4 separate regions of the Homo sapiens genome follow, and all the other regions are linked to region 1. Evidence: promoter capture Hi-C in human tissues and cell types (Jung and others, 2019). All regions are on one chromosome and are shown on one strand. The core of a region is centred on a gene start or on the middle of the fragment in contact, and the rest is flanking DNA. Distances in the headings are between cores, read along the strand shown. Region 1 holds the start of SERPIND1 (serpin family D member 1). Region 2 overlaps MED15 (mediator complex subunit 15). Region 3 has its middle 120 kb from the start of MED15. Region 4 overlaps MED15 (mediator complex subunit 15).

Region 1 (2,946 bases), core at 15-2,514:
TGGATTGAAATTAAAGATCTGAAGGTAAATCTTCCTGATGTTTTGCTATTTAGTATAACAAACATTGTAGAAGACGTTTAAAAACTATCACTAGGTTGTGATTAAATCCAGATTACTGTTTGAAGAGAAACAATATATTTTAAAGATAAATCATTCAAAAGTTTGTTTTGCTTTTTTTTTTTCCTGGGAACTTCATATTGTGCTTTCTTGCTAATTGCCAGAGCTGGGTTGGCCTTTTCAGTCACGCATCAGAGCATAACACTTGATAAACCGTCATCCCTCCTGGTGTATGGTCTCCAGGCCCAACAGAGCAGGCAGAATGGGAGAGAAGTAACTGCCTAAAGTTTGGAAAACTTTTTATTTTGAAGTAAGTTCAAACTTCCAAAAATGTTGAAAGAATAGTGTAGTAGAACAACTCCTGTATACCCGTACCGAGATTTACCAGGTTTAAAATTTTGGAACCTTTGCCCTGTCATTATCTGTGTGTGTGTGTACGTACGTGTGTGTTCTCACAGGCATGCACATACACATTTTTTCTTCTAGACCATTTGAGAGTAGGTCTCCTATATCTTGTTCCTCTAACATTTTTTCTTTTTTCTTCTTTTTTTTTTTTTTTTTGACGGAGTCTAACTCTGTTGTCCAGGCTGGAGTGCAGTGGCACGATCTCCGCTCACTGCAACCTCTGCCTCCCGGGTTTAAGCGATTCTCCTGCCTCAGCCTCCTGAGTAGCTGGGATTACAGGCGCGTGCCACCACGCCCAGCTAATTTTTGTATTTTTAGTAGAGACTTGGCTTCACCATGTTGGTCAGGCTGGTCTTGAACTCCTGACCTCGTGATCCACCCGCCTCGGCCTCCCAAAGTGTTGGGATTACAGGCGTGAGCCACTGCACCCGGCCCCTCTAACCTTTAATACTAATACTTCAGGGAAAATACCCAAGAGCAAGGATATTCTCATACATAATCACAGGACAGTTATCCAATTCGATTAATTTAATATAAGTACAATATTTTCATCTATTCCACAGCTCCTATTCTAAGTTTGTCAACTCTCCCAACAATGGAACTGACACAATTTTATAATAGGCACACTGAAAAATGAAACCATTTCCCACTTCTAAAACAGTGTAGAAAGCTTCTGAATTCTTAGTTTGCTAGAAAAATGAACCAGTTGCCTATCCGTAAACACCAAAAATAATTTATAATCAGCAGAAACATTAGAAACCCAACTTACCTCTGTGTTTCTGAGAAGTGGCGCTTCAGAGATGAAAGCAGCCAAGGTCATCAGTGGGATTTTGATGTGAACTTTGGTGCTGGGCTGTTGCTGCATATTTTCCAAAGTAAATAAGTCCCAATCCAAACACCAGGCAACCAGCTTGGTCAGCACAAACCCCCTCAGCTGTGCCTTTGATAACTGTAGAGTGGCTTGCAGCTCCTCATCTCCAGTTCTTAGAGCTGACACTTTGAGTATATGACGGTTACTGTGTTAGCATGCACACATAGCCTTGGTGCAGGAGCAGCCCCTCTTGAGGTCACCACATAAACAAGGCGCTCTTCAGGCCTCTGGGGACCAGGCTGCATTGAGGGTAGCTGAAAGTAGAGACCATGCATCTGCCTCCAACTGTGTCCTCTCTTCTGGGATGATCACAGCATCTGCCCTCCACCTGCTCTCCAGGACTGATGTGGCTGGCTCAGCTACTAGGCGGGTGTCCCTGTCCTTCCAAGAGCTCGTTCCTCAGTGAAAGGTGGAGGAGAGAGGACAAAATTAGTGGCTTACAGAATAAGGGGATTGTGGCATGGACCTTTCTTCAGTCAAGGGTTGCTGTGTTTGTTGCCAGTAGGTGCAGCCCAGCACTCCTGTCTGTTGTGGGACAGATAGGACTATTACTGAGCAGTGCCTCCCAAATTCAGGGCCACTTAGGCATTCGTGGGGATCTCTGAGGCTGTGATACATTTTGTGTTTATGGGTGTTTGTTTGTTTGTTTGTTTGTTTTGAGACAGAGTTTCGCGCTGCTGCCCATGCTGGAGTGCAGTGGTGCGATCTCAGCTCACTGCAACCTCTGTCTCCCAAGTTCAAGCGTTCTCCTGCCTCAGCCTCCTGAGTGGCTGAGATTACAGGCGCACACCACCATGTCCAACTAATTTTTTGTATTTTTAGTAGAGACGGGGTTTCACTATGTTGGCCAGGCTGGTGTTGAACTCCTGGAGTGAAGTGATCCTCCCGTCTCGGCCTCCCAAAGTGCTGGGATTACATGCGTGAGCCACCACGCCTGGCCCTATGTGTTTTTTGAGACAGGGTCTCACTCTGTTACCCAGGCTGGAGTGCAGTGGCGTGATCTTGGCTCACTGCAGCCTCAACCTCCCGAGCTGAAGCAATCCTCCTCACCTCAGCCCTGCAAGTAGCTGGGAATACAGGTGCACACCACCATGTCTAGCTAACTTTTGACTTTTTTGTAGAGACAGGGTCTCACTATGTTGCCTAGGCTGGTCTTGAACTCTTGGGCTCAAGTGATCCTCCTGCTTCAGCCTTGCAAAGTGCTGGGATTACAGGCATGAGTCACTGTGCCCGGCCTTATGATAATTTGTTTTTTAATTTGTGTTTTAAATTTTATGATCTAAAAAGTTTTAAGAATATTCTGGATTGTCTGGAAGATCAGCTTATCACAGAGACTGCTCCTCAAGAGCATGTTTGGGAGTGTCGGCACCCAGAGTCTATCTGAAGAGAGAATGTGACTCCTAGGAGAATCTGCGGGTGTGCAAGGGGCCCATGGGGGTGTCTGTGCATTGCTCCGTTTGAGAAATTCCAGAGTGTAAAGGTCCATTGTGTTCAGGACACAGACCGGTGGTTGTGTCTGAGTCTGATTTTGCACTCTAGCTTTTGTCAGAGCTGTCTTCTTAGAGCCTTCATCTGTCACATACAATACTGAGTCTTCAGCGTGGCACCACAGG
Region 2 (2,900 bases), core at 299-2,798, 200 kb after region 1:
TGCTCCTGGCTCCGGCACTCAGTGTGTCCCCTGGAGGCACTCCCCAGGGTGCAGTGGAACACGGGTCTCACCCTGGCAGCTGGCAGCCAGCAGAGCCCAGAGGATGGGAGGCAGGGAGATTTCTAGTGGGAAGAAAAACAAATGAAGGGCACCCATTCATTTCCAAGAGCACGAGAGCAGGAAGCCAGGCCCTGTGCCCAGGTGTCAGTGGTGGGCAGTCCAAGTCCAGCACCTGGGATGAGAAGCAGCCCCTGCAAAGACTCATCCAAAGACAGGCTCTAGGCTCTGGGGAGGCAGCCAGAGAGGCGAGAAAGAAACCTCCCAGTCCTTGGTCTCATGTCAGGTCTGGGATTGGAGCAGGGAACAGGGAGGCAACAGTGCCTCTCTAGTCAAAGGACAAGCCCCTAGTGAGAAAGACACTGCCTGCTTACATCTGCCAAGGGAGGATTGTGGCATGGGCCATGCCACCCCCTGGGCCCCCGTGCTGAGCACTGTGTCCAGAATGCACCCAGCACAGAATCCTGCTTGACCTGGTAGCCTGAGTCCGTGAGGCATGCCCACCGTAACAGGAAGATGCAGCCATGAGCCGTCAAGACAGAGGGAGGGAGCCTGGGCCCTGCCCTCTGGAGAAGAGCCCATGGGGCACGTACATTCCCTCTTTCAGCTCCACCTGTTTTCTTGGACCTAATTTGTTGCCACAAGGAAAGAGCAAGAGCAAATGGGCAGTGTAGTCTCCAGACTGTGTCCTGCTGACTGCTGAGGGCAAGTGGCTGGAGGGACAGTGGCCACAGAGTGGCCATCTGGACACACTGGAGACAGCAGGTTCTGGCCCCTGAGAGCTCAGATGGGACACAGTGGGGCAATTCCTGGTGAGATCAACAGATACGTTCCTGAGATAAGCTCTCTTTTTCTCGGAAGGGACTGGATTGAAAGATACTGACACAAAAGCAGAGGCACACCTCTGGAGCCACCTGGTGTGGTCAGGTGAATGCCCTTGGTACACGGGGCCCAGCATGCCTCACGTCCCCAAGGCTGGCCCACAGCCAGGTGTGGGAGACTGTACCAAGAGCCTGGTACTGCAGCCGGACGTAGAGGGCTGAGCTGGGGAGGGCCCTCTGCGGGGAAGGCCAGGACCAGAGAGGGCTGCAGAGCAGCTGCCTGGGCAGTAGGGAGGCTTCCACTCCAGGGTGTCCCTCTATTCGCTTTTCTCCCTCCCTCAACTCCTTCCAGTTTCCTTTCTTGCAGCTAACAAGCATGAACAAACCTGCTTTAAAAACACAGTACAAGGCTGGGCGCAGTGGTTCACACCTGTAATCTCAACAGTTTTGGAGACCGAGGCGGGCGGATCACCTAAGGTTAGGAGTTCAAGACCAGCCTGGCCAACATGGTGAAACCCCATCTCTACTAAAAATACAAAAATTAGCCAGATGTGGTGGCAGGCGCCTGTAGTCCCAGCTACTCGAGAGGCTGAGGCAGGAGAATCGCTTGAAGCTGGGAGGTGGAGGTTGCAGTGAGCCAGGAGTGCGCCATTGCACTCCTGCCTGGGGGACAAGTGCGAGACTCTGTCTCAAAAAAAGAAAAACAAACAGTAACAATGACAACAAAATAACAGAACAAAACCAGAACCTTGCCCCAGTTCTGTGCCTTCCTTCCTCTTTCCATAAATCCTGTGGCTTTTGTCTACTGCCGGGACGAGGAATACTTTCTAAATGCTGCCGCGTTTGTCCTCAGTGAACAACCCCAAAGGTTCAGGGGTGTGCCTCTCACTGCCAGTGCGAATGGGCGGGGCCTGGTGATTAAATCTGTGTGCAGTTAGCCAGCATCTTCCCATGAGAGCGCTCTCACCCCACACAGTGCAATGAGGACAAACCAGAATTCTCCATGGCATTTATTCCAAGGCAATAACTTTTTCAGCTTCATCATATATTTCTCTATCCTTCCTCTGCTCCACCTTACCTCCTTGCCTTTGGGGGTTGGAAGCTTCTAGAGAGAGAGAGACCTATTAGCTGGCATAACTCAGGGCAGACTTAATCTAAGGGCCAGGGAAGGCTGGGGAGGGAAAGACTGAGTGGGTTTGGGAACTGGTGGGAAGGAGGGAGGGAGGGAGGGAGGGGCTGCCTGTGAGAAGTCTAGGTGGAAACACCAGCAGCTGGGTGTGGGGAGTGGCCAGCCCACAACAGAGTATGGGCAAGCCAAAGCCCAGGACAGAGCCTGGTCTTGTGGGGGCATGGAGGGAGCCCACCCAGGAGTGCCCAGTAAACAAGAAGGAGAAGCCAGGTCATCAGCCCAGCAGGAAGGGGAGTGAGGAGTTTCCAGAAGAATCCTGCTGAGAGGCCAAGGCATAAGGGTTTCACTTGAGCCCTCGATCCTGACTTGGTGGCTCCCTGGGGGCACTCTTAGTCTGTAAAAGGGGCTAAATGCTCAAACTATGACCTGCTACAACAAGAAACAGTGAGGCTCTGTACACAAAGAGCTTAGCTCAAGGCCTGGCACATATCGCACACTGAAAACATTGGGGACTTTTTGTGTTTATAAAAATCAGTCCTACATGCTGCTACTAAAGTCATTCCTCCACATACAGCAACCCAACCTGATTCTGTGAACCCAGTGGATACTGTGCCAGAGGCTATGGGAAAGGAGGAGAAGCAGTTTTAGCAGACAAGAGTGCAGAACCCAAAGGGGTCTAGTCAAGGAGACACCAGCAGCATGTGAGCAGGTCGTGGAACTCACAGCCTCCAGGCCATGGGGAACTGCACCCTGGCTTCTGCCCACACTGGCCTCCTTTCCACCACAGCCACACAACCTAATTCCTGACCCCCAACTTCCGCTCCTCTGGAGAGCTCTTTCACCAAAGCCTTTCTACCAGCAGATTCCAGGCACTTCCTCCCGCTGTAATTCAA
Region 3 (3,090 bases), core at 270-2,769, 150 kb after region 1:
TGTGGATATCCAGTTCTCCCAGCACCATTCTTCAAAGAAATGAGTGTTTTCCCCACTGAATGGTCTTGTACCTAAGTTTTTACTCAGCTCGGTGAAAACGTGCTCTCACTGATGAGGCTGATAAGGTTTTGTCTTGAATTGGGACCTGGGAATAGTGCTGGTAATTTGGAGATGACATGAACATTTATTTGGGGCTACCCCAGTGCTCTCTGCTGGTTGAGCAACTGCGCCATCCAGCCAGTTGGAAGGTTTGTAATGAGGGAGCTGAATGAGACAGAGACGAGAAGAAAGGGCGAAAGTGGAAGAACTGCATCAAGAATTCAGGAGTGAAGAGGGAGCAATTCTCCTGAACATTCCATGAAATAATCTAAATAAAACCACCTAGTACCAAGCCTGCCCTGTAGGAGATGCTTGGTGATGTTCTGGTTGTCTTTGAGTCAAGATGGAGTCCATCTGGGTCGGAAAGATAAAATGACAATCTTGCTGAAGTTTTTCTCCATCCGAGGTGGAAGTGAGATTTCCCACTCATGCTCTCCAGCGCTTGGACTTGCTTTTGGGACCAGCTCTGATGAACCTGTGTACACTGAGTTGCAAGTGATGGACAATAGCTCAGACCAACAGTCCACAGGTGAGTTGCAAGTAACCCCAAGGTGTTAATGGCTGTTCCTTGGCAGAAAGAGTTCAATGTGTTTATGAAGCATCACATACCACATTCCCCTCCTGGGGACTGACAGTGTGTGTGGTGTATAGAGCAAGTCCTGGCATACAGCAAGTGCTGTACAAGCATTACCAAGGATTCAGTACCACAGACTTGGCTCTGAAGCTGGCCACTGTGGGCTGCATGCGAATGGTGTTTCTGTAAAATGTGGGAATTGCTGGCCGGGCGTGGTGGCTCACGCCTGTAATCCCAGTACTTTGGGAGGCTGAGGCAAGTAGATCACTTGAGCCCTGGAGCTGAAGACCAGCCTGGGCAACATGATGTAACCACATCTCTACAACAAATATAAAAATTAGCAGGGCCTGGTGGTGTGTGCCTGTAGTCCCAGCTATTTGGGAGGCTGAAGCAGGAGGATCGCTTGAGCTTAGGAGTCTGAGGTTGCAGTGAGCTATGATCATACCACTGCACTCCAGCCTGAGTGGGAAAGCAAGACCCTGTCTCTACAAATAAATAAAGAAGACATGAGAATCGATAATGTAATGCATGTTGAGTTACACAAATGTTCTCCTGGGCATTGTGAAACTATGTAATATTTTGTTAGGGCCAGGTGCAGTGGTTTACACCTGTAATCCCAGCACTTAAGAGGCCAAGGCAGGAGGGCCAGTGGAGGCCAGGAATTTGAAACTAGCCTGGGCAACATAGCGAGACCCTGTCTCTACAAAAAAGAAAATAAGAAGAAAATTAGCCAGGCATGGTGGTGTGTGCCTGTAGTTCCAGCTACTCAGGAGGCTCAGGGGGAAGGATTGCTTGAACCCAGGAGTTTGAGGTTGCAGTGAGCTATGATCGTGCTATTGCATTCTCTCCTGGGCAACAGAATGAGACCCTGTCTCTAGAAAAATAAAAAGATTCTGCTGTGCTGCAGATGTTGAGATTTTGTCTCTGTTTTTCCACAGTGGTTTGCTAAGAAGGCCATTTTCAACTCTCCACTGGAGGCTTTTATGGCGTTCCCTCACCTGCAGCGGCCCAGCTTTCTACTGGTAAATATCAGCTGTCTGGATGAGTGTCAGTGTGGCCACAGCTCTGTAGCTGTGGGACTTGAATGTTCTTCCCATTGACTTGAAGAATTCTCTAGTGGTTGTCTTTTAGGAGCGTGTGATGGAAGCAATGCCAGACTCCTTAAGCTTGACTGTGCCCCCTTATTACTACAGGGCCTTGGGGTTACTCAACCGCTGGGCTCTGGGCTCTGGGTTTTCCCATACAAGACAAATTCATTCAAGTTCTATTTTCTCTACTTCCCAAGGGGGTATGAGGAGGAGGAGGGGGAGGAGCAAATGAGAATGATGTACATCAGAGTGTTCATGATCTGTAAGTTCTTAAACAGACATGAAACATTCTGATAATCATAATTGTCATTAGTGAAAAATGGAGACACTCTTATGTTCTGAGGGGGTGCTAGGTTAGCACTTTAACTATTAAACATGGTGCTGAGAACTGGGTGTAATGGTCCGTATCTGTAGTTCTAACTACTAAGGACACCGAGGAAGGAGGATTACTTGAGCCCAGGAGTTTTAAGACCAGCCTGAGCAACACAGTAAGACTCAAAAAAAAAAAAAAGAAAAAATGATACTGAGAAGCGAGAAGTTAGGTATGAGCAAGTATTGGTGATGAAAGTTCCTAATTTTAGTTCTTAGGAGGTATTTTTGTAAATATGTATGTGGAAGGACGTTCCTCCCCAGGGCACCCCACTAGAGCCACCAGGTCTGCCACATGGCCAGACAACTCAGGTCTCCATCTCTTGTCTCAAATCCTGTGAAATCCACCCTCATTTGGAGGTAGACAAGGCATTTGGAGGTAGACAGATTCTAGCAGTTTCTCCTGATGTGAGTCCATTTGCACAGACGCTATTTTTATCCTTGTAGTCAGGATGCTTTCCGTATATCCCACGACTGTGGGTAGATTTTATTAGTCCTTGTCCTGAGTCTTTTCTGGCCTCTCCATTGCCTTTATGTTTAGTGTTTACTTGGTGCAAGCCATCTATAATTTTTACCTGCCTTGTGTGTGTGTGTGTGTGTTTTGTTGTTGTTGTTTTGCTTTGTTTTATTTTTTTTTTTTTTGAGACGGAGTTTCTCTCTGTCGCCCAGGCTGGAGTGCAGTGGTGCGATCTCAGTTCACTGCAACCTCTGCCTCTCAGGTTCAAGCGATTCTCCTGCCTCAGCCTCCAGAGTAGCTGGAATTACAGGCATGCACCACCAAGCCCGGCTAATTTTTTTGTGTTTTTTTAATAGAGACAAGGTTTCACCATTTTGGCCAGGCTAGTCTTGAACTCCTGACCTTGTGATTTGCCCACTTTGGCCTCCCAAAGTGCTGGGATTACAGGCGTGAGCCACCACGCCCGGCCCTGCCCTGTGTTTTAAGGTCATTGGTTTAGTAGG
Region 4 (2,705 bases), core at 72-2,571, 220 kb after region 1:
GGACCCCATGCTCCAATGCCAAGGGGCCCAGATGTTCTGGCCACATGCCCTTGCTGCCGCTCAGCCCCAGTTGGCCAAGAATCCCTGTCCTGGCTGAGAGGTGAGACCCACATGGGCAGAGACAGCTGGCATGTACAGCTCTACTGTCTAGGGCAGGGCAGACAGTGGCGTGCAGCCTGTGAGGTCAGTGCACTCCCTTCCCAATGGCAGAATGCAGTTGGCCAGCCTGGATCTGTTAAACCCCTTCCCTTGCAGCTTAGTCAGCAGAGACCAAGGCTGAATTGACAGAATTCCCCTCATGTGATAAACGCTGAAATTTAAAAATATGGATTTCTAAACTTTTTTTTTGAGATGGAGTCTCACTCAGTCATCCAGGTTGGAGTGCAGTGGCACGATCTCAACTCACTGCAACCTCAGCCTCCCAGGTTCAAGCGATTCTCATGCCTCAGCCTCCTGAGTAGTTGGGACTACAACGCATGCCACCACACCCGGCTATTTTTGTATTTTTAGTAGAGATGGGGTTTTACCATGTTGGCCAGGCTGGTCTTGAACTCCTGACCTCAACTGATCTGCCTGCCTCAGCCTCCCACAGTGTTGGGATTACAGGCATGAGCCACAGCACCCAGCCAGATTTCTAAATTTACAAAGAAACTTTGTAACTTAAAAAAGTGAATTCACAGCATTTTCTCAGAAATGCTACTACATATTATTACACTGAAAACAGCATAATAATTCTCTACCAGAGAGCTCAACACTTTTGGATAATGTCTTAATAGCTTTGTGAGTGTTTATCTTTTTGCTGGGCAAAGGCAGCATTTGTGTGAAACGGGATGGGGAGGATCATGCGACTTCACAGTCTGCAGGAAGACGAAGGCTGGAGAGGTCAGGGCACAGCTGGTCAGCCTCCTCCCTCCAGAGTTCTCTCCGCAAGCATTCTCCTCTAGTGACAGGTTAACCCAGGCACATGAGGCATGCACTATGTCATTCTTGCCACCTCAAATCCAAAGTTGGGAGAAACTTTAACTCAAAAGGGAAAACTCTTACCACTGACGGAAGCTTGAGATTTCTTGTTATCTATATGAAAACACAAACAAAAAAACGAAAGTAAACATAGTTTTATATAACCACATATTTCCATGGGTAGGTCAGTTCTGTAGGCATTTGCCCAAGCCTTAATCCCCACGGAGCTCCTAGTACTCCCCACTACTGGGGGAAGTGTTTCTACTCTTGGCAGCGCTGACCCCACAAGAGACCTGGGGGCAGAGGGTGCAGAGTAGCTCCAGGGTCAACCTGGGGCCTTAGGGAGCTGCCCCCAAGGCTGAAGCACTCTGGGGTTGGGGACCCTGGGCCTACTCTGGCTTTCCTTTTTCCCAGGTCCAGAGTCTCAGCTCAGCCCTGAGCAAACAAATAATAGAACACTACAGGAACCCACGGCGGGGCTGGAGTGGTGCCAAGACTTGACACTGCCTCCCTTTGCAGCCCACTCTGGTGAGGCAGTGTCTCTGTTACCTAGATGAGGAAACTGAGGCTGTCCACGGCCAGCTGGAAGCCAGTCCAGCTGACCCCAGTGCCCAGCGGAGAACTTCTGTAGCAGTCATGGGGCCCTGAGCCTCCTGCTCGGCTGCTTCCCATGACCTCATGAGCCCCACAGGACTGTGTGCACCAGCCAGGCCACTGTCCCTGAAAGCAGAACATGCGGAGTCTGCCAGCGCATCTGGGCCAGATCATCTGGGCTGCTCCTTCTCCTCTTACACATCCCAGTGACTTTCCAACACCACAGAGAGTGAGATCAGTGAAGTTCACTTTGCTGGCCATTCTGGTGAAAAGTTAGTGTGGAAAGAAGCAAAACCTACCAGGCTCTGGAGTGCTCAATGTCTCCCTTTGACCCAGCAACACACTGAAGGTACAGCTGCCTGTCCCTAACCCACAGGGGAATAGAAATAGGACTCGCCAGGCACATGCTCCAACGACAGGCCTGTGTCAAGAGAAGCCTGCCTCTGGTGGTTATGCAGCGGCAGTGGGCAGGAGCCATTGTTGGCTGAAAACACAGAGCAGCTGCTGGCCCCAGTTTCCTTCGCAGGCTGTGGCCATCCAGGAACACTTGGTGTCCACATACTTCCACGTAACACACACAAGCACGAAGACCCTGGCCCTAGGATGCAATGACAACTCATTTCTGTAGAGCTGGGGCCACTGCCTGGCTGACAGAACCACACTGGGCCCTCTGAATCAGAGGAGGCACAACGTGAGGTTAACACGGGGGCCCTCAGCACAGCAGGGAGCCAGGGTGCAGACTCAGGAGGTCCTCCTCAGAAGCTTCTAGTCTGGAGGGAAAATATGCCTAAGTGTCTCTGGCCTCCATGGGTCAATAAAATCAACTTTTAGGGAAGAGAGTTTCTGTTCCAGGGTAAACAGAACTTCCCAGAAGTAAAAACAACAGCCCTATGAAAAGGGAGATTAAGTGAGCAAGTGAAGCAGCAACCCGTTTAGACCACTTTGAGGACAGCATTTCCATGATGCTAGAATCAGCATTTTTGAGGCCAAGGCTCTGGGAGGATGGAGGGATCTGGAGTCAAATGCAAGGCAGTGAAGAACTTCCCAGAAGCAAGTGAGGTGACACAGACCTTCTGACTCAGGCACCACGGCCTGCCCAGAAAGCTCTGCCGAGGCAGCGTCAGGGCTGGCCTCTCACAGAGATCTCAACA

What was found. Contacts are between HindIII fragments. The study calls those that stand out against the background at their distance.
Region 2: a fragment that was not itself captured here is called in contact with the fragment with the promoter of SERPIND1 in region 1 in 2 of the 25 tissues and cell types used here (dorsolateral prefrontal cortex and lymphoblastoid cells).
Region 3: a contact is called between a fragment that was not itself captured here and the fragment with the promoter of SERPIND1 in region 1, in 2 of the 25 tissues and cell types used here (IMR-90 fibroblasts and lymphoblastoid cells).
Region 4: a contact is called between a fragment that was not itself captured here and the fragment with the promoter of SERPIND1 in region 1, in 1 of the 25 tissues and cell types used here (stomach).

What each region holds. Positions count from the first base shown.
Region 1 is chr22:20,772,431-20,775,376 of GRCh38, reverse strand. It overlaps SERPIND1 (serpin family D member 1), which reads right to left and starts at 1,264. Exons shown (of 5, transcript NM_000185.4): 1 at 1,232-1,264. All of the region lies in intron 19 of PI4KA (phosphatidylinositol 4-kinase alpha), which reads left to right. The HindIII fragment of the contact is 14,489 bases long and covers 1-2,946 here.
Region 2 is chr22:20,576,611-20,579,510 of GRCh38, reverse strand. The region is part of intron 9 of MED15 (mediator complex subunit 15); the gene reads right to left. Among named protein-coding and RNA genes, the nearest start is that of MED15, 70 kb to the right of the region's middle. The HindIII fragment of the contact is 7,226 bases long and covers 1-2,900 here.
Region 3 is chr22:20,624,701-20,627,790 of GRCh38, reverse strand. It overlaps the pseudogene SMPD4P1. Among named protein-coding and RNA genes, the nearest start is that of MED15, 120 kb to the right of the region's middle. The HindIII fragment of the contact is 4,060 bases long and covers 1-3,090 here.
Region 4 is chr22:20,551,514-20,554,218 of GRCh38, reverse strand. MED15 (mediator complex subunit 15) reads right to left here. Exons shown (of 18, transcript NM_001003891.3): 4 at 1,045-1,074. Among named protein-coding and RNA genes, the nearest start is that of MED15, 45 kb to the right of the region's middle. RefSeq lists an enhancer at 1-76. The HindIII fragment of the contact is 5,082 bases long and covers 1-2,705 here.